Linked DNA regions of Homo sapiens: all the other regions are linked to region 4. The links are contacts of gene promoters, found by promoter capture Hi-C in blood cells and fetal thymus (Javierre and others, 2016). All regions are on one chromosome and are shown on one strand. The core of a region is centred on a gene start or on the middle of the fragment in contact, and the rest is flanking DNA. Distances in the headings are between cores, read along the strand shown.

Region 1 (5,219 bases), core at 2,260-4,759, 610 kb after region 4:
AGAATTAAATAATTTTTAAAGGATTTATGCCCATTAGTTCTTTCACAGATTAACATAAGGACAAAACAGGAAGAAGGTGGGAGAGTGCAAATACAGCTCTCACAACAAGCCTATAATTAGGGGAAGTGAGAGTTGTGATATTATCTTTCACAGATTGCTTGAAAAATTATCATAATGAGGGAAATGTAAGTAAAGGTCAAGACTGAGGAAGGCTAAAATCATTTACATGAATGCTTTAGAAGAAGCTGACTTATTTTACATTGCCTACTTTTGGAAAGGAGTTGCTAAATAGAGTTTATTACTCTTCTAAAGTACAGTAACAGGAAGAAGAACAAACTGAGATATGAAGACAATTTTTTTTTATTATGAGCTGACTTTATTTTTTTATTTTTTTTATTATACTTTAAGTTTTAGGGTACATGTGCACATTGTGCAGGTTAGTTACATATGTATACATGTGCCATGCTGGTGCGCTGAATGGATTTCATTTCATGAAATTGACACAGGAAGTGAAAGTTGTAATCAGGCTATAATTATAGACCCTGGTAGTTTGCCTTTTAAGTGAATTCAGTTATGTAAAGGATACATGTGTTAATGATTTTTACGCTTCTGACAGATTACCAGCCTCCTAAGTTAAGGTGCTATATCTTTTTCAGTAATTATTACTATTCGTGACATCTTAAATAAAATACCTTTAGTTGATACAGACCAGTGGTAAAATTAACTAAAGACCAAACCAGAAAAATACACTGTGAGACAGCTTTAGAAAATGCCCTATTATTTACTTATAGAAGGTTTAACTTTACTTTTTTTTAGAAAAGAAATTCAGCCTTTTGTGATAACAATTTAAAGACATAATGTCATAGCACAGCATTCTGAAGAAGTGAATTTAACACAATTATATTATACAAGCTTGGGATTCATATTGATTTATTAGAATTATATGAAACCTATCCTCTGAAGAGCTCCAACATGCCCTAATTGAACTCCAAGAATTTGTCTGATAACTCTCTCTTGGGAAAATTAGATGAAAGCTTGCCCTAGGAGTGATTAAGAGATTTATGGGATTTATACACCAACATGAAAGCTCAGGATTTTAGGCTTGTAGTAATTGTTTCCAATCCTAAGTCCCAAAACTCTGACTCTACTATTGAGATATCTTAAAAGCTATTTCAAAATGTGCTTCAGGAGTCACACAATGTTGTTTAATTCAAACATGACTTTATACTTTTTTTGATGTGATTTATACTGTAACACACAAACACACAAACCAACTTGTTCAAAAGTGCTAAATACCAAATGTTAACACATTGGAGAGCATTAATGCCTGATCTTTCGCTGTCAGGCACAAATTTCAAAATAATATTTGCTTGGACATCTCTTTCCATACAATTGAACTTCTTATAAATGCAATATTAATTTTTTGAAATACATGTAGCTTTTCATACGTGGCTTTTTATTAATTATTCATGAGTGTGATATCTGTCACATTTGATTATACATTTTACATCAGCTTCTTTGTCTTGACAGTAATTTTTACAACATAAATAACATTTGTAAGGCTGTTCAGGTTGTAGTTATACCATCCTTAGTAATGAAACAAAATTTTGGACTTAATATGAAAAGCAAAATCCATTTTACTACTTGAAATTTTAAGTGACTCTATATTTTATAGACAAACATTGAAGTATACAAGATTTTTTTAAAACACCACTTACCATCACATTATAAGATACAGTTTAAAAGCATTTTCTACCAAAAGAATTGATTATATCTTTTTATCAACTTCTCTGAAATTTGAACACTTAATTATGTGAACAGTAGTTAGAAGTATTAATGAATAAATGTAGGAAAACAATCTACCATTCTTTGTGGTGTTTCAAAATCAGTTAAGTAATCCAGTACCCAAAGAATGCAAAATGAGTGTGTTAGAAAGCTATTTGCTCCTATTTAGTGAATTAAGATTTTTCTCCCTATTGTGCAAACAAAATAACATACAAAAATCAGATGAGTCTTGAAGCTGACAAAGGACTACAACTGTCATAACTACTATTATAATGACAGCTTCTGTTTTCAAATTATCAGCTTGTCAACAGTCTATTTTTAAGTAAAAACTGTAATAAATGTGAATTTACAGGTTAAAACTAATAAATTTCTAGTTTTTGGTTTATGTATGTAAGATTCTATAGAAGATAAACTTGCAAACTGAGCTCCAATGTCATTTAAAACTTTTGAAAATTACTTTATTAAAATAATGCAAAGATAAAAATCACTAGCTTTTGGCCAAGCACGGTGGTTCACGCATGTAATCCCAGCACTTTGGGAGGCCAAGACAGGTGGATCACCTGAGGTCAGGAGTTTGAGACCAGCCTAGCCCACATGGTATAACCCCATCTCTACTAAAAATACAAGAATTAGTCAGGCATGGTGGTGCACACCTGTAACCCCGGCTACTCAAGAGGTTAAGGCAGGAAAATCATCTGAACCCAGGAGGTGGAGGTTGCAGTGAGCTGAGATTGTGCCACTGCACCCCAGCCTGGGCGACAGAGGGAGACTCCATCTCAAAGAAAAAAAAAAAAGTCACTAGCTTTCAAGTTGCAAAAGTAAAATATTAAATATATTTCAACAATCATCTCTAAGTTTTGTTTGCCTTTCTTGTTTTTGAGACTCTGAAGACCTAAAATCTAATTCTTGTTTTGAAAGCTGCATCTGCCTAAAGAGCCAATTTTAGTGCTGTCCTCTGAGCAACAGATACAAAATGGTATATATCTGTTGCTTGCAAACATGCAAATCTGCAAAATAATCTTGGCAAAATACCAAGGTTATTTTGCAGATTTGCATGTTTATGCTAACACTTCAGTGGCCTCTAAGTTTCTCCCGATACTCTGCCCACTATTTGAATTCTTTATTTTGGGGGCAGATGCTGTCATCCTTTTCAGAAGGATGTCTAAGTTATAGCTGCAAGGTCTGAATAGCTAGTCTTCCCAAAGGCATGATTAAGTCAGTCACCAAATTTAACAAAATTTTCTACTCAGGCTTCCTCCAAGGTAGAATTCTCTATTAAACAAAAAAATCTAGAAATATGAAGAAATACTCTCTTTAAACAAGATGCTCAATTTTAGAGGAAAACCTAGGGTAAATACCAGGTAAAATCGGGTATTATTCTAACTCATCTTCAGCTCTTAATGTGCCTTGTTAATTTTAACCTTAGGTTTCCTTTCAAAGCTTGAGTGATTCTCTTTCCATCTGATTCTTTTTTAAGATTTTCTAGGATTTCTTTAAATAATTAAAATCTTATCCACCATGGTCAGTTGTCAAAACCACCGTTGCCTTTGTTCTTCTCAGGCCATTTGTATAGTAATCGCATCTCAATTTCAGTCAGCCTCTTTATGCTTAAAAATTATAAAGAAAAAAAAAAAGCTTATGTGGTTTCTCAAGTGACTGGCCTTCCTTATTTCTCTGATTCTTTATATGCCTCTCACCCGACAGAAAAGAAGAGATTAAAACATCAACAGGCATCACAGTAATTCTAGCTTGTGGGAGGTGCTTCTGAGACTCCTCATTTAATTGGAATGGAATCTCATTTATTCCAAGCTTGCCTGCTCCCTTCCGTCTTCTGCCCTCTGCATGCAGGTAATTGGTCTTCAGCCACAACTTGCCCTATTTGAAAGGATCTGGGCCTCTTTGCCTAGAATTTAACTTTTCAAAAAATTTAAGCCTAAAAATATAAAAATGGTTTTAATGAAAGTGTCTCCAAAAATCTCATTAATTAAAAATACCACTCATGTATGTAGAACCTGCAAATGCCAATTTTCTCCCTCTCAGTCTGACTTCCTCCCTATTTCTCTCTTTTGACCCTTACACAATGTCAGCACTCATAGGGGTCTATAGAGGTAAGTGGTCAGGGTAGATCATTGAGGCCAGGGGAAGAGAGAAAGAAATTCAGAGTGGGAATCCTGGCCAATCCCTTATTTGCTAACTCTGTATCCTAGTCATGGATTGACTCGCCCAATTCCTGGCCCCAAGTAGCCTGGCTCACCAGATCCCTGGAGTTTTATAGCCTGGTAGATGGATTCAGAAAGTTACAAGGTTATAACTCACTGTTCTGAAGTGGCTATGAGAGCCAGAGAGGCCCAAAACCCAAAAGGACCTTACCTTTCTCGAACTGAGTATTACACAGACCCTTTTGTATTTTGGCACCATGTGGTACTGTATTCTAGGTCAATTACTTTTAAGTCAATATTGTACAATTCTGATGCCAGAAAAGAATTCTGTGCTTGGCACATAGTCCCTATGATGACTTAATAAAACAAGAATTGATGGAATGAATTAGAGCTGCCTAGAAAAGGCAAGGTATTTGCCAGATCTTATTTTGGGGGTAAGTTTTTGAATCAGTAGTACAAAATAAAATAATATAAAAAGGGATTCAGAGAAAAATCTTATTCTCACCTGTGACCATCTGTACTCACTTTCCCAGCCTCTGAACAAATAAGCACTATTACTGGTTTCTTATGTACACTTCCAAAGTTTCTGCATCTGTATACTGTCAGGCCTCTGAGCCCAAGCTAAGCCATCGTATCCCCTGTGACCTGCACATATATACCCAGAAGGCCTGAAGCAAGTGAAGAATCACAAAAGAAGTGAAAATGGCCGGTTCCTGCCTTAACTGATGACATTCCACCATTGTGATTTGTTTCTGCGCCACCTTAACTGAGCGATTAATCTTGTGAAATTCCTTCTCCTGGCCCAGAAGCTCCCCCACTGAGCACCTTGTGACCCCCGCCCCTGCCTGCAAGAGAAAAACCCCCTTTGACTGTAATTTTCCACTACCGACCCAAATCCTATAAAATGGCCCCACCCCTATCTCCCTTTGCTGACTCTCTTTTCGGACTCAGCCTGCCTGCACCCAGGTGATTAAAAAGCTTTATTGCTCACACAAAGCCTGTTTGATAGTCTCTTCACACGGACGTGCATGACATTTGGTGCTATGACTCGGATCAGGGGACCTCCCTTGGGAGATCAATCCCCTGTCCTCCTGGTCTTTGCTCCATGAGAAAGATCCACCTACAATCTCTCGTTCTCAGACCAACCAGCCCAAGTAACATCTCACCAATTTTAAATCAGGTAAGCAGCCTCTTTTTACTCTCTTCTCCAACCTCTCTCACTATCCCTCAATCTCTTTCTCCTTTCAATCTTGGTGCCATCCTTCAATCTCTCCG
Region 2 (4,898 bases), core at 1,674-4,173, 640 kb after region 4:
ATAAGTGTTTCACATGCTTATTTGATCCTCAAAAAAACTCGATAACGTGGTAGATTATTAACCTGTTTTATGCATGAAAAAGTAAAGCTAGAAAAGGTAAGTAATCTACCTGCGGTCACGGAAAACACTATAATTCATGTTGACCAGACCAATATAAAATATTTAGAAAATATATTCCACGTTTTACTTAATATTATAGTGTTTGATTCACCAAATCATATAATTGTGCATATCCTTATGGAAGAGGAAAGAAAGGAGAAAAAGGATCTATTAAATCTCATTTCTAAAAAACTAGCCAATAGAAAATGTTCTGTCTATCCATGATAAGGATAATTTAAAATTATTACATTGTAATTTTCTATTTAGTTTTAGTAGCCTGGGAAAAAAAGTCTTAAAATGATTGATTTTTTTAACTTATATAATTTTAATTTGGTGCAAGAAATATGGATTATTAGGTACTCAAGAGTCAACATTCACTGAACTACATGTCAAATAATCCCATGGCCGTATAAATTATAAATAAAAGATACCTAAATATGATTAAGTATATAGGTTTTTAAAAGTGAGACTTTTTAGCTTATTTTTTAATTGTTAAAAAACATTATACATATAAAAGATGGCATAAGATATTTATGCATAACTGAAGAATCATTCAATCAAAAATATGTATTAGAAGCTTATTATAGGGGATTCCACATTTAGCACTGAAAATGTAAAGATCCTGGATGTTGTCATTCCTAACCTTGGAAGAAAAAGGTATTCAAACTGACAATCAATGACTTTTATTAGATCCATCAGAGAAATTAGGCTGCAGGGCAAATGTTACCCTGGATTAGAGGTGAATTCAGAGTCACAGTCCAGATCTGCTAACCTTGACCAGAAGTAACCAGAGCCGTAAACTGTAAGAACACTTAAATGGTCATTTTTGATGAATCGCTGAGGCTGAACATGGACTCCCATGAAAGTGGAAAACTCCTGGGAACTTCAGTCTTTTGGGGCCCCTACGCTTCTGTGGATTTTACCAACAGGCACTCTACCAGGTTCTCATGGCAAAGATCTGAGACAAACCTCCTAGTGGCTCTGACTAGGGGACAGGAAGAGTAATGATCATGAAATACACCCAGAACCTTTTCCATTTAAAAAGCATACTCTCCACGGAAAAACATTTTGGCAGAGTTCAACAAAAGCAGGGGGAAGAGCATTCCTCCCATCCCAAACCTCTCTAACCTTCTCTTCTCACCTAAAGGAAAAAGGATTTAATCAACATGGGTCAGGGCTTCAAAGAAATAAAATTGGGAATGGCACAGCCAGAAAGAGGATGGAGAGGGGAAAACCAAAAGCTGTACCACTAGAGAAACACCTGTGAAGATCACAGCCCCAAGACACAGGCCCACCAAACCACTGATATTTAATTAGAAGCTACTCACTTTACAAAGTTGAAGCAAAACACCCACTAACCTAGCATTCTAGATCCAGCAAAATTATCCTTGAAACATGAGAAATAAAGACTTTTTCAAACAAAAATCTGAAGGAATTCATGACCTGCAGATCTGTCTTGCAAGCAATGCCCAATAAAAGAAGTTATTTGGGCAGAAGAAAATTGAAACAGAACAGAAACTTAGATCTGCCTAAATAAATGAATACTGAAGGAATAAGTGAAGATGAAGTAAAATATCTTATTTTTTAAATATCAATTGATCTAAAAGTATGACTTTAATCATAACAATGTATTGCATGGTTATAGCATATGGATAACTAAAATGAATGACAGCAATGTCATGAGGGATCAGAGGGGAAAATTGGGAACTTTGTTCTAAGATACCTACACTACACACGAAGCAGTATAGTGTTATTTAAAGGTGGACTTAGATTAGTTTTGAAATGTATATTGTAAGTCTAATGCAACCACTGAAAAAAAAATTAAAGTATAATTGAAGTGCTAAGAGGAGATAAAATAGAATCCTATATAAAATGCTCAGTCAAAACCAGAGAAAGCAGGAAAATAGGTGAAAAAAAGAAACAAAGAAGAAGGGCAACAAATAGAAAACAATAACCAATATGTTAAATATTAACCCAACTATATCAGTACTCACTTTAAATGCAATGCTGGTCTAAACATACCAGTATTCTCACAATGGATATTAAAATAAGTCCCAACTGTAAGTTGTCTACAAGAAAGCCCTTTTAAGTATAAAGATTAGGATAGGTTAAAAGAGAAGGGATGGAGAAAGATAAATGAAGCAAACAGTAATTAAAAGAAAACTTGAGTGGCTATGTTAATTTCAAACAGAGAAGACTTCAGAAAAAAGATTATCAAGGATAAAGAGAAGCAATTACATAATTATGAAAGGGTATATTCCCCAAGAAGACATGATAAAAATATTTTGTACTAAGAAAATGAAAATACTAAATAAAATTTGTGGGATTCTACAAAAGAAATACTTAAAGGAAAATTTATAGCATTAAATGCATATATTAGGAAAAGAAGGCCAGTCACAGTGGCTCATGCCTATAATCCCAGCACTTTGGAAGACTGAGGCAGGCAGAACACTTGAGCCCAGGAGTTTGAGATCAGCTTGGGCAACATGGTGAAACCCCGTATTAACAAAAAAAAAAAAAAAAAAAAAAAAAAAAAATGAAAATTAGCTGGTCACAGTGGCGTGCGCCTGTAGTCCCAGCTACTCAGGAGGCTGAGGTGGGAGGATCTCTTGAGCCGTGGAGGTGACTGCAGTGAGCCAAGATTGCGTCACTGCACTCCAGCCTGGGCAGAGTAAGGCCCTGTCTCAAAAAAAAGAAAAGAAATAGAAAGATGAGTTATTAATACTTAAAGCAACCAGAAGAAAAAAAACTATAAAAATTAGAACAGAAATCAATGAAACCGAAAACACAAAACAATAGAGAAAATTCATTAGAACTAAACCTGGTTTTTTTTTTTTTTGAAAAGACCAATAAAATTGGTAATCCTTTAGGCTCCAAGACTTAACTGAAAATTCATTTCTTCCCACAAGCATTCATTGAGTGCCTACTATGTGCTAGGCATCAATCTAAAGTGCAACAGTGAATTAAAATAAATTCGTTGCCTTTGTGGAGTGTACATTTCAATGGGGGAAGACACATATGGAAAATAAAGCAGAAAAATAAAGCAGGAGGTATGATGGGGGTGGGGTTGGATGATCTTATTTTACAAAATGTGATCAGAGAAGGCCTCTCCAGTAAGGTGATGTTTTAATAAAAAAGAAAGTGAGTGAGTTGTCAAGATCTATCCAGCAAAAGAGACAGCAAGGGCAAAGTCGCTGTGGAGGTGCTCAGCAGGTTTGAGCAACAAGCAAGGTCAGTGTGGCTAAAATAGAGCAAGCCAAGTAAATGGCAACAAGTTTGAGAGGGGTGGATCATGTAAGTATGGAGTTTGGCTGTCATATGAAGGGAGATGGGAAGCCATTGGAAGGATCTGAGCAGAAGAGAAACATGATCTGACTTGTGTTTTAAGAGGATCACTCTGAGTACTGTGTGGAGAAAAGAATAGGTTATGAGGGGTCAAGGGTGATAGAAGGAAGACCAGTCAGTGGAAACTGCATTAAGTCAGATAAGATAAGCTGGCTTAGACTAGGGTGACAGTGGTGCAAATGGTATGTGGTCTGAGTCTGGATGTATTATGAAGGAAGAAGCAACGGGACTTTCTGATGAATTAAACATGAAATACGTAAGAGATTATATAGTGTGGGCATTTGTCCCCTCCAAATCTCATGTCGAAATGTGATCCCCAGTGTTGGAAGAAGTGGGGCCTAGTGGAAGGTATTTGGATCATGGGGGTGGATTCTTCATCAATGGCTTGGTGCCCTCCCTATGGTAATGAGCGCATGTGAGATCCCATTGTTAAAGAGACAGGAACCTCCCCCAACTTTCTCTGGCTCCCTCTCTTTCCTGCTCCCGCTTCACCCTCTGCCATGAGCTAAAGCCTCCTGAGGCCTCAATCTCAGGTATTCCTTTACGGTAATGCAAAGTGGACCAACACAAAAGAGTCAAACATAACAAGATTTTAGGCCAGAACAAACAGAACAAAGAATTTACCAATATAAGTGAACTAACTTGCTTTAGAATTTAAAAAGTATTATATACATAAAGTAGTTCATTTTTTACCAGAGGACAGGTATTCAATAGATTAAAATCTCATTCCATTCTATCATGACATAAGGTATTTCATGATTTTTTACCAGATTTTAATTCTGCAACACTCACTAGTCAGATATCACTTTGCAACACTGGAAGTTTTCAATCAGAAAAGGTTTTATTATAAGAAACAATGACATCAGGTAAAAATGCAAAAAATTGTGCAATTATGGCAAAATGTTTAAAAATATCTACACATTTGCCCCCACAGGACTACAGTACTTACTACATACCTGAGCACTGAACATTGAATTCCATTTTAAACTGCTTTACATAGGGAATCTGATTCCTTCATGATCACATCCATTTGTTCTCATGACCAATAAAATCAGCTTGATGCTTAAGCATCAACTTTGTAGAACAGAAAACAAAGATGGAAAATAAAGAATACAATTTCTACTTTCCTATAACATAGTTATACCCAGTCCAGTTTTCAATGTGTGACAAATATATAGGAAAGTGCTACATACATTCTTCAAATGCAAAAACAAAGTTAAAGTGGAACTGGCATTATGTTAGACCTACATTTTAATTCTGTAGTACCCATTGTGCCTTTTACTTAAGGTCTTACCACACTATGAAAATGCACCTTAAATATCTAAATATAAACCCACACATGTCACTAATCTTACTTTTCTAGGACCTCTTCTGAATCCATTTTAACAGTGGCAAAATATCCCAGCTATATAATTTAAACAAATAGTTCTTCATACAAAATTCAATATATATTC
Region 3 (5,452 bases), core at 1,622-4,121, 550 kb after region 4:
CTAATTCTCTTGTTGAGAATTATGTTGGCTCCTGTCCTGCCATAAACAGACTTTCTCCATGAGACAAGGAGTATAGATTGGGCTTCTTAAAAGTCACAGCCTTATATAAGAACGATACAGTGGACTTTGGGGACTTGGGGGGAAGAGTGAGATGGGGTTGGGGAATAAAAAACTACAAATATGGTGCAGTGTATACATGAGTGACGGGTGCACCAAAATCTTACAAATCACCACTAAAGAACTTATGTAACCAAATACTACCTGTACCCCAATAACTTATGGGGGGGAAAAGTTATAGCCTTAGATCCACAGCCTGCGAGGCAAGGAAAGTCTGTCTCTCAGATTCATCATTTAATTCTCAGATGTCCTCTAATTGGCCTGGCTTAGTTCACATGTCCATCTGTTAGACAAATTGTGAGCCACAGAGGCATACCTCTGTGCTAGGATATACCATGCCTATATCAGAAGAAGGTGGGATAGAATTATTTCACGTCAGGCCACCACCTTAACTTGAATCTACTCTGAGGAGCTCTTTAGAAAAAGAATTCTGTGCTGATATATATTTAAGTTTTTTTTAAGTCTAGTTTGTTTATTACAGGGTGGCTCAGAACCTTAAAGATGCTACCGTGTGTTGTGGATCTTCACGAAATGAACATGGAATGCAGCATTTAGTATTAATCTTTTTTTGTCCGAATGAGCCTGCCACTGCAAATTGATAAGACAGTTTGGTCCATACAACTTTAGAGAAACAATACTGATAGGCCATTCCCCTTCCAAATGTTATTAATAAGCACTGTCCTCCTAGATTTCTGTTTCTTATAACCAGGTTGTCTGATTAATAGAGCTATTCTGATTTATATTTTACATTTTCTCATCTGTTTAACAAATGTTTATTGGGGGCCTAGGCATGGTTCTCGGTGCTGTAGATAGCAGTAAATAAAACAGACAGCATGTGGGCCTTGGCAGAATTACATTCCAGTAGGGAGACTAACAAAAAAACAAAACAAAAAATATTCAGTAAGTCTTCACTTAATATCCTTGATAGATTCTTGGAAACTGTAACTTTAAGTGCAATTACATACAATGAAACCAGTTTTACCTAGGCTAACCTATAGCAACAGGAGTTAAGTTCCTTTGGCATATTTCTAGTCACAAAATTGCCAGACTTCTAAAGAAAGACCCGAAAGCCTTTTAATATTAAACATTGAAATTAATGTGAATTAAAGTTTTAAAAACTTCACATTTTTAAAAGATTACTCAAAACAAGTAAGATAATGATTTATCCAGTTTTTCCAGTTCAGGATCTCAGGTGGCTGGAGTCTGTCCCAGTGGCTCAAGGCACGAACCAGCCCCAGACAGGACACCAGCCCACTGTAGGGTGCACTAACACACCCACACATATTCAGATGGGGACCATTTAGACACACCCATTAACCTGACATGCACAGCCTTGGGATGTGGGAGGAAACCGGAAGACCCATAGAAAACTCACACAGACATTGGGAGAACATGCAGACTTCACAGAATCAATTACTTTTCTCATCAACATTGTAATGAAACATTGAACAAAATGGTATACTTCAAGGACCTGCCGTATAATGTGAAGCAATGATAAATGCTTCAAAGAAAAATAAAGAAGAGGGGAAAAGAGAAGAAAGGGAGAGCTAGATCCAGTATTCTGTTCATGGAAGGCTTCTCTGAGAGAATGAAACTTGAGCATAGTCCTGACTGCTACGTGGGAACCAACCACTTGGGCATCCCAGGGAGAGGGACTAGTGCATGCAAAGCTTAAGGGGTAAATACATACCAGCATGCTTGGGAAAACGCAAGAAGGCCAGTGATTAAGAGAGGTAGGAAACCTTTATTATTATCATGTGGTGGGGAAAGGGTGAAAGTTTTAAGCAAATGAGCAAGAATTTGAGTTGCTGAGCATTGCTAGGAAGACCAACTCAGCAGCTATTGGGTGCATTTTGGAGGTGGATTACAGGAAGGAGGAGCTGGGAGACCACAGTGGTTTAGGTAGTGTGGACATAAGCAAGGGCAGTGGCAGTGGAATGGAAGGGAGGCAATCACTGGGCTTCATGTTACTGGGTTGGTGTATTCTACACAGGCTTCAAGGCAGATGAAAGGTTGAGAAGCATGAGTGAAGAGCTAGACCACCTAGATCCCACTGGGAAAGATGCCTCAATCACAAATTAGGAAGTCAAGAAGACTGGTGCAAGAAGGGCTCAGAGACCAGTGGGTAGTAGAAACCATGTAGAGGCTATAAACACCCAAGGAGTTGAAGATCAAGTCACAAAGGTAAGTTAGATACAAATTGCAGGCTGAGGAGTTTGCATTTGATGCCTAGACAACTGGGAAGCCACTGAAGACACTGGACCTAAAAATGACATGATCAATGCAAATATTGGTAGCAGATGGATGCCATCTCTTCCCCAGCCTATATCAGCCCTACAATGTTCTATGTCCTACTCCCTGGAGTAGGACAAGGTACTAATCATTCATGATACCTAAATTCCAGAAGCTGCTGCTTCTGTACTCTGTAGTATTGGAAGTAAGTGAATGCTATTTCAAGCCCATTGGCCCCACAAATTAGGGCCATACTAGGAGACACTATAGCACAGTGGTATACAATGTGAACCTGGCTTGATTCCACTGTTTCGTAGCTATGTGAACCTTGCCAACCTCTCTGTGTGCCAGGTACCACATCTATAAAATGGAAATCATTATAATAGGATTTTATGACAATTAGATAAAGGAACCCATGCAGATTCCTTAGAACAGTGTCTGAAACTCTACAAAAAGAGGGTGCTGTCTTTATTCAGTAGACTTGTCTACTTATCCCCACTCTTCCTAGCTCATATCCACACCTTCCACCATAACAGAGCATCAAATAAAAACTAAGAGAGAAAGTCTAAATTGATCCTTATAACAAAGAATGGAGAGAGAAGCAAAGGGCACTAGATCTGGGGTTGGAGACATTTGCAGGAGAGAGGAACAGAATTTAATGTTTTAAAGCTGGACTTGCTGAGATAGCAGCCACTAGACACATGGTGCGTATTTAATTTTAAATTAAGTTAAATTGAAAATTCAGTACTTCAATCACACTAGCTATATTTTAAGTGTTCATGTGGCTAGTCACTCTCCCAGTGGACAGCCCAGCTCCAAAGTGTCAGATTCTACCTCATGCACGGTTCTCTACAACCTAGTCTAGTGGCTTGATAGCACATTCATTTTTTCTGAATGACATCCCATTGTCTGAATGTATCACAATTTATCCATTTACCTATTGAAGGACATCTTGGTTGCTTTCAGTTGATGTTGATTTTAAATAAGGCAGTTGTAAACATTCACACGCTGGTTTTTGTGTGGACATGGGCTTTCATATCAGTTGGGTAAACACCTAGGAGCATGAGTCTTGGAACATATGGTAAGCCTATTTTAGCTTTGCAAGAAACTGTAAAACCTCTTCCAAAATGACTATACCATTTTGCATCCACTGCAACAATAGGTGAAATTTCCTGTTGCTCTGAATCCTTGCTGGCAATTGATGTTGTCAGTTTTTTGGATTTTAATCACTCTAATAGGAATGTAGTGGTATCTTATTATTGTTTTAATTTGTACTTCTGTGATGGCAAATTATATTTAGCATCTTTTCATATGCTTCTTTGCCATCTTTATATCTTTCTTTCTCAGTTGTCTGTTTAGATCTTTTGCCCATTTTTTCATTGGCTTGTTTATTTTCTTATTGCTGAGTTTTAAGAGTTCTTGTATATTACAGATACAAGCCCTTTGTTAAATATGTTGTGTTAGGCCATTCTTGCATTGCTATAAAGAAATACCTGAGACTGAGTAACTTATAAAAGAAAATTAATTGGCTCATGGTTCTGCATGCTTTTATAAAAAGCATGGTCCTGGTATCTGCTCAGCTTCTGGGGAGGCCTCAGGAAGCTTACAAACATGGCAGAAGGCAAAGGGGGACCAGATGTTTCACATGGTAAGAACAGGAGCAAGTCGGGGACGAAGGTGCCAAACACTTTTAAATAATCAGATCTCAGGAGAACTCACTATAGTGAGGAGACCACCAAGCCATAAGGAATCCACCTTCATGACCCAAACACCTCTCACCAGGCCCCACCTCCAACATTGAGGATTACAATCCAAACTCATTATCCTGCTCCTGGCCTCACACATCTCATGTTCTTCTCACATTGCAAAATACAATCATCTCCTGCCAATAGTCCTCCAAAAGTCTCAACTCATTTCAGCATTACTCAAAAGTCCTAAGTGCAAAGTCTCATCTGAGACAAACCAAGTCTCTTCCACCTACAAGCCTGCAAAATCAAAAATAAGCTTTTTACTTCCAAGATACAAGAGGGGTACAAGAATTGGTAAACATTCCTATTCCAAAAAAGGAGAAATACACCAAAAGAAAGTAGCTATAGGCCCACACAAGTCTAAAACCCAGCAGGGCAGTCATTAAATCCTGAAGCTCCAAAATAACCTCCTTTGACTCTATGTACCACATCTAGGGAACACTGCTGCAAGGGATGGACTCCCAAAGCCCTGGGAAACCCTACCCCTGTGGCTTTTTCATGCTGAGGTTGCAAGTTGCTGGTGGCTCTACCATTCTGGGATTTGGAGGACAGTGGCCCCCTTCCCACAGCTTTACTAGACAGTGCCCCAGTGGGGACTCTGCATGGGTCCCCAACTCCACATTTCCCATCTGCACTGCCATAGTAGAGGCTCTGTGTGAGAGCTCCACCCCTACAACAGACTTCTGCCTGGACACCCAGGCTTTCCCATAAATTCTGTGAAATCTAGGCAGAGGCTTCCAGAGCTTCTTCACTCTTGCACTTTGTGAGCCTGCAGGCTTGACACCATGTGGAAACCACACAGGCTTATGGCTTGTGCCCTCCAGAGCTGTGGCCTAAGCTATAACTGGGTCCCTTTGAGCCATGGCTAAAGCTGGATTGGCCTGAATGCAGGAAGCAGTGCCCAAGGCTGCTCAGGGCTGCAGAATCCTGGGCCTGGTCAACAAAACCCTTCTTTCCTCCTAGGCCTTTGGGCCTGTGATGGGAGGGGCTGCTTCAGATGTCTCTGAAAGTCCTTCGAGGACTTTTTCCCATTGGTCTTGGCTATCAGCACTTGGCTCTTTTTAGTCATGCAAACCTCTCTAATAAGCTCCGCAGCAATTCATCCCCTCAAAAAAGCCCTTTTTTTTGCCACATGTTTAGGGTGTAAAATTTTCCAAACTTTTACACTCTGCTTCCTGTTTAAATATAACTTCCAAATTTAAGTCATTTATTTGCTCCCACATCTGAGAATAGGTTTTTAGAGGCAGCCAGGACAACTCTTAAACACTTAGAAATATCTTCTGTCAGATACCCCAAGTCATCACTCTTAAGTTCAAACTTCCTCAGTTCCCTAGGGCATGAACAGAATGCAGTCA
Region 4 (4,963 bases), core at 1,316-3,815:
CTTGCCACTTTGCCACCATCGTGACAATAATTGATTTAAACAATCATCATCATCCTTATCATCAAAAGATGCTACATCTAGTGGGTAAAACTATGTCTCGAAATGGGCTAGAAATTATATTAAAATAAAAATCCTCAGCTCCCCCACTTTCCAAAGAGAGAGATTAGGAAAGAAGCTAGTAGCAACAGCTGTCTACTTATGTCACATTGTACCTTTTTTCATGATCATATGCTCAAGAATGAGTAAGGTTAAAAAAAAAAATCTAAAATAGTGCTTAATTTGGGGGTGGGTGGAAGGGATGTGAATCTCATCTCTTATCAGACCTGCCACCTCTGGCAAGTTACTTAACCTCTGTGCACCTCAGTTTTCTCTTCTGCAAAATGGGGATTGTACACTTCTACTCATTTAAAACTTTGCTATGAAGACTAAACAAGTTTATATTTGTCTAATGCTTGGCACACATTCAGTAACTTTGCTGTTGTTTTTATTATATGCACATTGCTTAGACTCGCGTAAACTCTGTGAAAGGGAAATAATCTTGGGACTCCCAAATCACTAAGGTAAAGGGAAAAGTTAAGGTGGGAACTGCTTAGGGCAAACCTGCCTCCCATTCTATTCAAAGTCATCCCTCTGCTCACAGAGATAGACGCACAGCTGATTGCTTCCTTTGGAAAGGCCAATCAGAAACCCAAAAGAATGCAACCCTTTGTGTCTTATCTACCCATAACCTAGAAGCCCCTCCTTGCTTCCAGTTGTCTCGCTTTTCTGGACCAAACCAATGTACATTTTACATATATTGATGTCTCATATCTCCCTAAAATGTATAAAACCAAGCTGTGTCCTCCACCACACCTTGGGCACATGTCAGGACCTCCTGAGGCTGTGTCACAGGCACGTGTCCTTAACTGTGGCCAAATAAACTTCTTAAATTGATTGAGACCTGTGTCAGGTATTTGGGGTTCACAGCTCCAAATGAATGTTGCTTTTATCACTCTGATTACTGGGCTTAAAATCCTCCAATAGCTTTGTGTCCGGAATTGGTTCCTTCCCGTGGGTTCTTAATCGTCTCGCTGACTTCCAGAATGAAACTGCAGACCCTCGCGGTAAAGATGGCGTGACCAGAATTTGTTCCTGCAGATGTTCAAATGTATCTGGGGTTTCTTCCTTCCGGTGGGTTCGTGGTCTCGCTGACTTCAGGAGTGAAGCCGCAGACTTCACAGTGAGTGTTACAGCTCTTAAAGGTGGCCCGTCCGGAGTTGTTTGTTCCTGCCTGTGGGTTCGTGGTCTCGCTGACTTCACGAATGAAGCTGCAGACCTTTGCAGTGAGTGTTACAGCCCTCGAAGGTGGGGCATACGGAGTTGTTCATTCCTCCCAGTGGGTTCGCAGTCTCCCTGACCTCAGGAGTGAAACTGCAAACCTTTGTGGTGAGTGTTATAGCTCATAAGGATAGTGCGGACCCAAACAGTGAACAGCAGCAAGAGCTACTGCAAAAAGCAAAAGCACAAAGCAACCACAACCTGGAAGGAGACCCCAACTAGGGGCCACTACTGGCGCCGGTGTCCAGCTTTTATTCCCTTATTTGGCCCCACCCTCATCCTGCTGATTGGTCCATTTTACAGAGTGCCAATTGGTCCATTTTACAGAGTGCTGATTGGTCCCTTTTTAAAGAGTGCTGATTGGTGCATTTACAAACGTTTAGCTAGACACAGAGCGCTGATTGGTGCGTTTTTACAGAGTGCCGATTGGTGTGTTTACAAACCTTTAGCCAGACACAGAGCACTGATTGGTGCATTTACAATCCTTTAGCTAACAGAAAAGTTCTCCAAGTCCCCACCTGATTAGCTAGACACAGAGGGCTGGCTGGTGTATTTACAAACCTTTAGCTAGACACAGAGCGCTGATTGGTGCATTTACAATCATTTAGCTAGACAGAGAAGTTCTCCAAGTCCCCAACCGACCCACCCGGCTTCATCTCTCAGCTTTACATTGATTTTAGGTTAAGGATAGAACAAAACAAAACACCCACAACTCCTTAAGGGATGGAGAGCCTCCAATGGCCTCTCCTTGACTCACCTGAAGCCCTGGGCTGCAGGAACCTCACCTGTCTCTATTCGTTAAAGTCTCAGCTCAAACACCACTGTCCCAGATAGGCCTCGTGACCGCAGGACTAGACCACGGTTCTCTGCGGAGGGCGTCAGCTCCGTGAGCCACCCTTCCAGCACCCACTGCCATGGCGAATATTTGCTTGTTTGGCCATCCAGGGACTGTTTGAGCCCCAAGACCGCAGGGCTCGGGGTCTGTCTTTGCTCAGGACGATAACCTGGGGACTGGACAGTAGGCCCTCAGGCCTTGGGACCGCTCAAAGTGAACCGGGGCCGGGTGGGGGACCCAGGGCTCTGCAGCCTTAAGAACGCCTGTGCCCCCGGGACGCAGGGGTCAGGCCCGGCCCGGCCCAGACCGCCTCTGCCTCCTCCTCCTTTTCCTCCCCGCGCCCGCTTCTCCTCTGACCCCTCCTCCCGCTGCTCCTCCTCCGCCTCCTTCCCCTGCCCGCGCCCGCCCTACTGCCCCGTGCCGAGTTTCCTGTTTAAGATGGCGTCCCCCGTAGCAGCGCAGGCCGGGAAGCTTCTGCGAGCCCTAGCGCTGCGGCCCCGCTTCCTGGCGGCCGGGTCCCAGGTGAGCGTGGGGGCAGGAGCTGCGGGCGCCAGCAGCGGCGCCGGCCTGCCCGGGCTTCCCTCGCCCCCTGCTACTCTTGGTCTCCGCCTGACCCCCTGCGCGGCCCCTCGGGCGCCCCACTTCGGGAGGTGACGCGGCGCCGGGTCCAGGCGCAGCAGGGAACCCCGCTCCAGTGTGGGGCAGGGGCGGCGCGGCGGCAGCCCCGGGTGCCTCGGGGTATGAGCGACCCAACGCACTAGAGTCTCCGCTGTCTGCCCGCGCAGACTCATGGCGAAGGCGCTGAAGCAGGCGCTGGACGCAAGTTTAAGAAAAGTTTCTTGGACCGGGTTTTGGAGCCCTGAGGTTTTATTGTCAGCTCTACTAATTCTGCTTTTCAAACTTCTGGCACTAACCCTGAGCACGTTTAGACCACGTGATAAACATGCCTGGAAACCCGTTTCAGCCCAACTAGGAACTCACCCCCTAGGGTGAACTTCCTGCAGGCTACCTGCTTTTGCAGACTTTTAATGTGCCTGAGTTGGTCAAATCCGTGGGTCAAGGAGAAAAATGGGAAACGATCTTTCTCCTCTTTCCAATGAAAAATCAGGGCTGTCACTAAAACGCATTAGACCATTGACCCTGTCCATGTCCTCCTTGTTGATGGAGAATGAAATCAAAGAGGGTCAGTGGTGGGCTGGATAGCGATTGGAACTTGGCCTCTAGCAGATTTTTACCTTCTGCAGATGGCAAGCGTTAAAATAGTCAGAAGGACTTCAGGAAAGTTTTGAGTTGGTGATGACTCTTGTAGAAATCACTCAACCACTGAACTGGTTAGTCTCCGTAGACTATCTCTCTTCCCTTTTAAAGAAAGCACAGTCTGGGATTCAGCCACAGCAGAGTTAATGACCTTGCCTATTTCCCCATTTTTAATTGATGAGAGGCAAATTATCACTCATACAATTTTAACCAGGATGTGCATAGTATAGTTTTTTAGAAAATTTAAAAAATAGTGATTAATGATTTTTTGAGTTCCTCTAAACTTTGGTTATGACATCTGTGAGCTATTTTTACCCCTCTCCTTTCATTTCCTGCCTCCCCATTTCTCTGTTATTGTTAATGTAAATTTAAAAGGTGCTAATACTTACTACTGTAATATTCTTAATAGGTGCTTGACAGTATAGTGAGGTAGCAAAAGGAATGGCAGTTTTGTCTAATTAAAACTCACTAATAACTGTTGTAATAGAGTAAGGAGAATAGCTCTAGGAGATGAAGTCCTATTCATTATTTAAGTGTTAGAAAAAACAAGAACTAGGGTGCTTACCATGAGTGTAGACTTGAATTGATGAGAAACATGGGGCCCAGGGCAGTGAAAACTCATGAATTGTACAGAGAAACTGAAAATGCAGAGTGTTTAGCTGAAATATGTGAAGCCTACTTCCCTAACCAAGAAATAAGAGGCTGAACGCAACACAGGAGAAAATCTGGTTGGGGAGAGATACTCTTGGTTTGTCAAGAAAACTGGGTAAAAAGATCTGTTAGCACGCCCCATCTGGTTACTGTGATTTACATATTTGTGGATGATGTGTTTTTCTGTAAATTCTTAGAAGGTAAAAGTAGGTTTTTTTAAAGATAGAAAGGTACACAGTGTCCAAGAACTGGAAATGGACATTAGCAATCATTTAGTCCAGCCAGCTCATTTCATGGGTAGAGAAATTGAGGCCTAAAGAAGTTCAATGACATATTCAACGATACAGTGAGAGTTTGTGGCATTCCAGAGTAAAGGCTTACCTTTACGTTTCCGTTACACCATGCTGTTTCCTGGTGAGTATATACTTCCTCATGAAAATATATTATATCAACATGCAAATTAATCTGCATGCCAGTAGTAACTATATAACATCCAAGTCATTAGCACCACTGACACATTTTTATTTTTTTCTTTATGACCATCTTAGAATTGTCCATAAAAATGGTGAGTATTGCTATTTTCAAATTCTTGGGTGCTTCCTATGATCTGTTTCATGTACACTGATTTGATATTACGTTTCCATAGTCCCTTGCCCGTGGCAGACATTGCAGTTAAACATGGCCCACTTCTCTCATCATACTTAAGAATCCTCACCAAGTGTCTCAGAAATCTGTTGCCACTCTTGGCCCAGACCTATTTTATACCACCAGGCCTTGTGAAAAACTGTTGTCTGTACAGAAATAAAAGACCCAGTTTCTGCTTAGAGAAATAACTTTAACTGGTCTCTCAAAGATACCCATAGAATGACATTTTGTCTACCTCCTCCCTATGGTTAAATTTAA
Region 5 (5,389 bases), core at 205-2,704, 680 kb after region 4:
AAGTTTCACTTTATGTACATCTGAAGTCACAACAACCTGGCTTGCAGTAGACAGGGTATCATTCTGCTAAGATGCCCTCCTTCAGGCCTTATTTACCCACTTGCTGGGAGTAAAATGGGCTGACTGATCTCAGGTCAGTGTCTCTCCAGATTTTGCATCAGCTGAAGAGAGCTGCCCTGCTGCAGACCATACCTCCTTCCCTTCAAGAACTGGAAGAACTGGTCAAAATGGGTATGAAAACCCAGTGCCTTTGCCTTAACATTGGACATCCTAAAAGAGATATCTCAGCTTCAGAGCATCCTTCAGGGTTGACTGGAGCCTTTGTTTTAACTGCATCCTTTTCCCTACCTGTAAATATCCCAACACCACTCCTTAATAAGCTTTTTTTTTTTTTTTTTTTTTAAAGAGGGAATCTCACTCAGTCACCCAGGCTGGAGTGCAGTGGGGCAATCTCTGCTCACTGCAACCTCTGCCTCCCGGGTTCAGGTGATTCTCCTGCTTCATCCTCCCAAGTAGCTGGGATTACAGGTGCACGCCACCACACCCAGCTAATTTTTTGTATTTTTAGTAGAGACAGGGTTTCACCATGTTGGCCAGGCTCGTCTCAAATTCCTGACCTCAAGTGATCCACCAGCCTCTTCCTCCCAAAGTGCGAAGATTACAGGAGTGAGCCACGTGCCCAGCCCTTAAGCCTCTTGAATGCTCATCTCTACGTAGTATCTGCTTCCCAGGAACCCAAGCAAACCCAGCCAGGAATCCAAAATTTGTCAAGAATCATGTAATTTCAAAGCTTGGTTAGCTAAGTGTTTATAAACTATGTGAATGAATGAGTGATTGAATCAGTGAACTGTCTACAAGGAAGTCTGTCTTTAGCCAGTAAATGAAACATATTTCATCCTTTGCCTGGGTCAGTCTTAGAGTATCTAAGGGCTTTAGGAACATACTTCTTGCATAAAATGTGTTCACAGTGTTAGGAGTTTACATACATTATCTCATTTTATTCTTATAACAATCCTATGAGGAAGGTACTGTTTTTCCTCCATTTTGCACGTAAAGAAACTGAGGCTAAGAGAGGTTAATATCTTATCAAAGATAAGAAAGTGAAATCCAGAGCTGGAATTTGAACTCTAGTCATTTTGGCCTTACAATCCTTGCTTTAAAACCACCATGCTAGGCCCAGTGTGGTAGCTCACACCTGTAATCCCGGCATTTTGGGAGACCAAGACAGGAGGATTGCTTGAGGCCAGGAGTTCAAGGCCAGCCTGGGCAACATAGAAAGACCCTGTCTGTATAATTTTTTTTAAAATTAGCCAGGTGTGGTGGCACACACTTATAGTTCCAGCTATTTGGGAGGCTGAGGCAGGAGAATTACTTGAGCCCAGGAGTCTGAGGCTGAAGCAATCCATAATTGCACCACTGCACTCCATCCTGAGCAACAAAGCTAGACCCTATCTCAAATAAAACAAACAAACAAGCAAAACAACAAAAGCAAACCAAAAAACCCACCATGCTATGTTATCTCACAGATTAATATATCCTGGCTTCTTCCACAATCCTGTACATATAGAAATAAATATACATGCTCCTTGACTTATGATGGGGTTACGTCCTGACAAACCCATCAAAAAAAATATTGTAAATCAAAAATGCATTAAATACACCTAACCTACTGAACATCATAGCATAGCATAGCTTACCTTAAACATGCTCAGAACCCTTACAGTAGCCTACAGTTGGGCAAAATCATCTAAGACAAAGCCAATTTTATAATAAAATATTGAATATCTCATATAATTTATTGACTACAGCAATGATGTAAAAAGTCAGAATGGTTGTGTGGGTACACAAAGTATAGTTTATACATAATGTTGCTGACTTTTACACCGTTGTAAAGTCAAAAAATTGTAAGCCAAACCATTATAAGTTAGGGTCTGTGTGTAAATGCTTTTTACTTGATTCATTGACTTGACAGTGCCTGTATAAGTTCATTCACACGTTGCTATAAAGAAATACCTGAGACTGGGTAACGTATAATGAAAAGAGGTTTAATTGGCTCATGGTTCTGCAGGCTGGATAGGAAGCATGGTGCTGGCATCTGCTCAGCCTCAGGAAGCTTACAATCATGGTGGAAGGTGACGAGAAGCAGGCAAGTCACATGGCTGCAGCAGGATCAAGAGGGAGAGCCAATGGGCGGTGCAACACACTTTTTAACAGCCAGATCTCACGAGAACTCAGTCACTATTATGAGAACAGCACCACGTGGAGGGTGCTAAACCATTCATGAAAAACGCATCCATGATCGAATCACCTCCCTCCAGGCCCCATCTCCAACATTGGGGATTATAATTCAACATGAGATTTGGTTGGCATACTGATCCAAACCATATCAGTGCCTAAAACAAACTTTTCCCGTAAGCATTCAAAAATGACCTTAGGCCAACTGGAACCCTGCATGGAAACTCTACCAATTGCTCTCCTTTACCTGAGATACAGGTACAGTCGAGGTTCCATGGGAACCTGTATCTCAGGCCCAGAAAGGGAAGAGAACATCATACTACAAAGCATTTACTGGTCAATTGAGTGGGTAAGAACAGTTTTTTCAATTAGAAATGTTCATGGAAAAGAGAAGAACACTTTCTTACATTTACAGAGGATTATTTTGTGTGTAGATTTCCCAATCAATATTTTAAAGATTGACTTTCCATGTCATCAGAAGAATAATTACTAGACACACTGACACCTGATGTTCAATTTTGAACCGAGATGAATTGTAAATGTCAATTAATATTGTATTGTATAGAATCACAAGCTTTCAACTTAATTCAATACATATTGAGCTTATATAAGACATAATGGAGATAAGATGGTGAAGACCCAATCTTGACATTGAGGAGATTATATTGTAAGATGATGAGGACACTCACATATATTTTTAACACAGATACAGTGTGATAAACAGAGAGGGCAGATATAAACCAAGGACTGTGGAAGGAACAATGCAGAAGAGACTTATTGGGCAAGGATGAGAGACAAAACCTTTGTTTTGTAGGCTGATTGCCTGAAACACACTTCTGAATAGTCACTCCTCACCTCAAAAACTTTCAAGAGCTTCCTATTGCCTACAAATACAGCCTCAACCCCCTCACATGGCCTTCAAGACCCTTGTCTGTTGAGCCACAATTCTTGAAGCATAGTGATATAGTTTGTATATTTGTCCCCGCCCAAATTTTATGTTAAAATGTAATCCCCAGTGTTGGAGGTGGGGCCTGGTGGGAAGTGATTGGGTCATGGGGGCAGATCCCTCATGAATGGCTTAGTGCTGTCCTCATGGTAGTGATAGTGAGTTCTCAGGAGATCAGGTCATTTAAAAGTGTGTGGCACCTCCCCCACCCCACTCTCTCCTTTTCTCACCGTGTAATGTGCCTGCCCCCACTTTGCCTTCCGCCATGAATACTAGTGCCCTGAGGTCTCCCCAGAAGCTAAGCAATTTTGGTGCTATGCTTTTACAGCTTGCAGAACTGTGGGCCAATTAAACTACTTCTTCTTTTTTTAAAATAAATTATCCAGTCTCGGGTATTTCTTTATAGCAACACAAGAAAGGCCTAATGCATGTAGGGTGATCATCTTATCCTCCTTTTCCCAAGACTTCCCCAGTTTTTGCTGACCGGAAGTTCTGCTTCCCCAGAAAACCCTTCAGTCCCAGGTAAAGCAAGACAAGTGATTGTTCTAACTACACATTTTAGTGTGTGATGAGGCCAGACTGAGCCTAGCCAGAGTAAGCCACCCTCTGTTCATTCTGACTTTGCCTTCTTTCTCACTTCTGAGCTGTCCTTCCTGCCTCATCTCCTTCCCCCAGCCCTGTATTGAAATCCTACTCATAACTCAAGAACCATTCAATGCCACCAGCACCAAGACTTGGTGACAAGATTAGCTATATTAACATTATTACTATGAATAAGAGCTAACCTTTATTGAAACTTCTGTCACATTTTAAGTGGATTTCTGTATGTAACGATCACTTCACCCTCCATCATGTACACTCTACAATTATCTCTGTTTTACAGATGTAGAAACTGAGGCTCAGAGAGAATATTATAAATTATCCAGGCCGGGTGCGGTGGCTCAAGCCTGTAATCCCAGCACTTTGGGAGGCCGAGGCGGACAGATCACGAGGTCAAGAGATCAAGACCATCCTGGCTAACGCGCCAGGCACGGTGGCTCAAGCCTATAATCCCAGCACTTTGGGAAGCTGAGGTGGGCCGGTCACCTGAGGTCAGGAGTTTCAGAGACCAGCCTGGCCAACACGGTGAAACCCCGTCTCTACTAAAAATACAAAAAATTAGCCAGGCATGCTGGTGGGCGCCTGTAGTCCCAGCTACTCGGGAGGCTGAGGCAGGAGAATGGCGTGAACCCGGGAGGCGGAGCTTGCAGTGAGCCGAGATTGCGCCACTGCACTCCAGCCTGGGCAACAGAGCGAGACTCCATCTCAAAAAAATAAACAAATGAATTATCCAAAGATATTTAAAAAGCAAGAGGTAAAGCTGAGATTTAACCCCAGATCTCCGTAACCCAAAACTTCATGCTGCTAACTGTAATAGTATATGGTACACATTGTCTCCCTTCCTAGATTCTCCTCATGTTAAATTAACACCTTTTTTTTTTTTTTTTTTAGAGATGGAGTCTTGCTCTGTCGCCCAGGCGAGAGTGTAGTGGCGTGATCTTGGCTCACTGCAACCTCCACCACCTGGGTTCAAGCGATTCTCCCGTCTCAGCTTCCTGAGTAGCTGGGATTACAGGCATGCACCACCACACCCAGCTAATTTTTGTATTTTTAGTAGAGACGGGTTTCACCATGTTGGCCAGGCTGGTCTCTGAAACTCCTGACCTCAGGTGACCCGCCCACCTCAGCCTCCCAAAGTGCTGGGATTATAGGCGTGAGCCACCGCGCCTGGCCAAATTAACACCATCTTTAAAATAAATGCCTGTTAGGCCACTTAGCACTCTACACTGCATTAAAAACTTTATACACCTGACTGACTTATTTCTGCTGCCAGACACTCAGCTCCTTGATTTCAGGAACTATGTCAAATTCATTTCTTAATCCCCCAGAGTATGAAGGAGACACAAGAATATGTGTTGCATGAGAGAACGGACATATAGACAGATAGACATTTTTAAAGTGAGCCTTTAAAGAAAGCAGCTTTAGATGGGGAGGTTACGCCAGGCAAAGTTAATAGTGATACGAATACTACTAATTGCAGCTAACATTTGGTGAATTCTTCCTCTGCACCTGACAGTACACCATCTCATTTTCATAAATTACCTGTGGAGAAAAGTCTTATTACTTTCCTAGTTTTTCAGATGGAGAAACAGAGGCTCAGAAAGGTGG

Evidence for each region. The method cuts DNA at HindIII sites, captures the fragments that hold promoters and counts their contacts. A CHiCAGO score of 5 or more calls a contact.
Region 1: a contact is called between a fragment that was not itself captured here and the fragment with the promoter of SUCLG2 in region 4, in 1 of 17 cell types (total B cells). The highest score is 6.0, in total B cells.
Region 2: a contact is called between a fragment that was not itself captured here and the fragment with the promoter of SUCLG2 in region 4, in 1 of 17 cell types (total B cells). The highest score is 5.3, in total B cells.
Region 3: a fragment that was not itself captured here is called in contact with the fragment with the promoter of SUCLG2 in region 4 in 1 of 17 cell types (M0 macrophages); the score reaches 6.2 in M0 macrophages.
Region 5: a contact is called between a fragment that was not itself captured here and the fragment with the promoter of SUCLG2 in region 4, in 1 of 17 cell types (total B cells). The highest score is 6.0, in total B cells.

Annotation. Positions count from the first base shown.
Region 1 is chr3:67,043,510-67,048,728 of GRCh38, reverse strand. No RefSeq gene overlaps it. Among named protein-coding and RNA genes, the nearest start is that of KBTBD8, 48 kb to the right of the region's middle. RefSeq lists a silencer at 569-628. The HindIII fragment of the contact is 174 bases long and covers 3,423-3,596 here.
Region 2 is chr3:67,010,579-67,015,476 of GRCh38, reverse strand. KBTBD8 (kelch repeat and BTB domain containing 8) reads right to left here. Exons shown (of 4, transcript NM_032505.3): 4 at 4,267-4,898. Among named protein-coding and RNA genes, the nearest start is that of KBTBD8, 15 kb to the right of the region's middle. The HindIII fragment of the contact is 4,490 bases long and covers 679-4,898 here.
Region 3 is chr3:67,103,388-67,108,839 of GRCh38, reverse strand. No RefSeq gene overlaps it. Among named protein-coding and RNA genes, the nearest start is that of KBTBD8, 110 kb to the right of the region's middle. The HindIII fragment of the contact is 2,164 bases long and covers 1,790-3,953 here.
Region 4 is chr3:67,652,214-67,657,176 of GRCh38, reverse strand. SUCLG2 (succinate-CoA ligase GDP-forming subunit beta) reads left to right here and starts at 2,565. Exons shown (of 11, transcript NM_003848.4): 1 at 2,565-2,674. The coding sequence starts at 2,591. SUCLG2-DT (SUCLG2 divergent transcript) reads right to left here and starts at 2,480. Exons shown (of 7, transcript NR_109992.1): 1 at 2,075-2,480. RefSeq lists an enhancer at 2,259-2,758 and a silencer at 2,274-2,953. The HindIII fragment of the contact is 5,512 bases long and covers 1-2,625 here.
Region 5 is chr3:66,972,976-66,978,364 of GRCh38, reverse strand. No RefSeq gene overlaps it. Among named protein-coding and RNA genes, the nearest start is that of KBTBD8, 23 kb to the left of the region's middle. The HindIII fragment of the contact is 1,323 bases long and covers 793-2,115 here.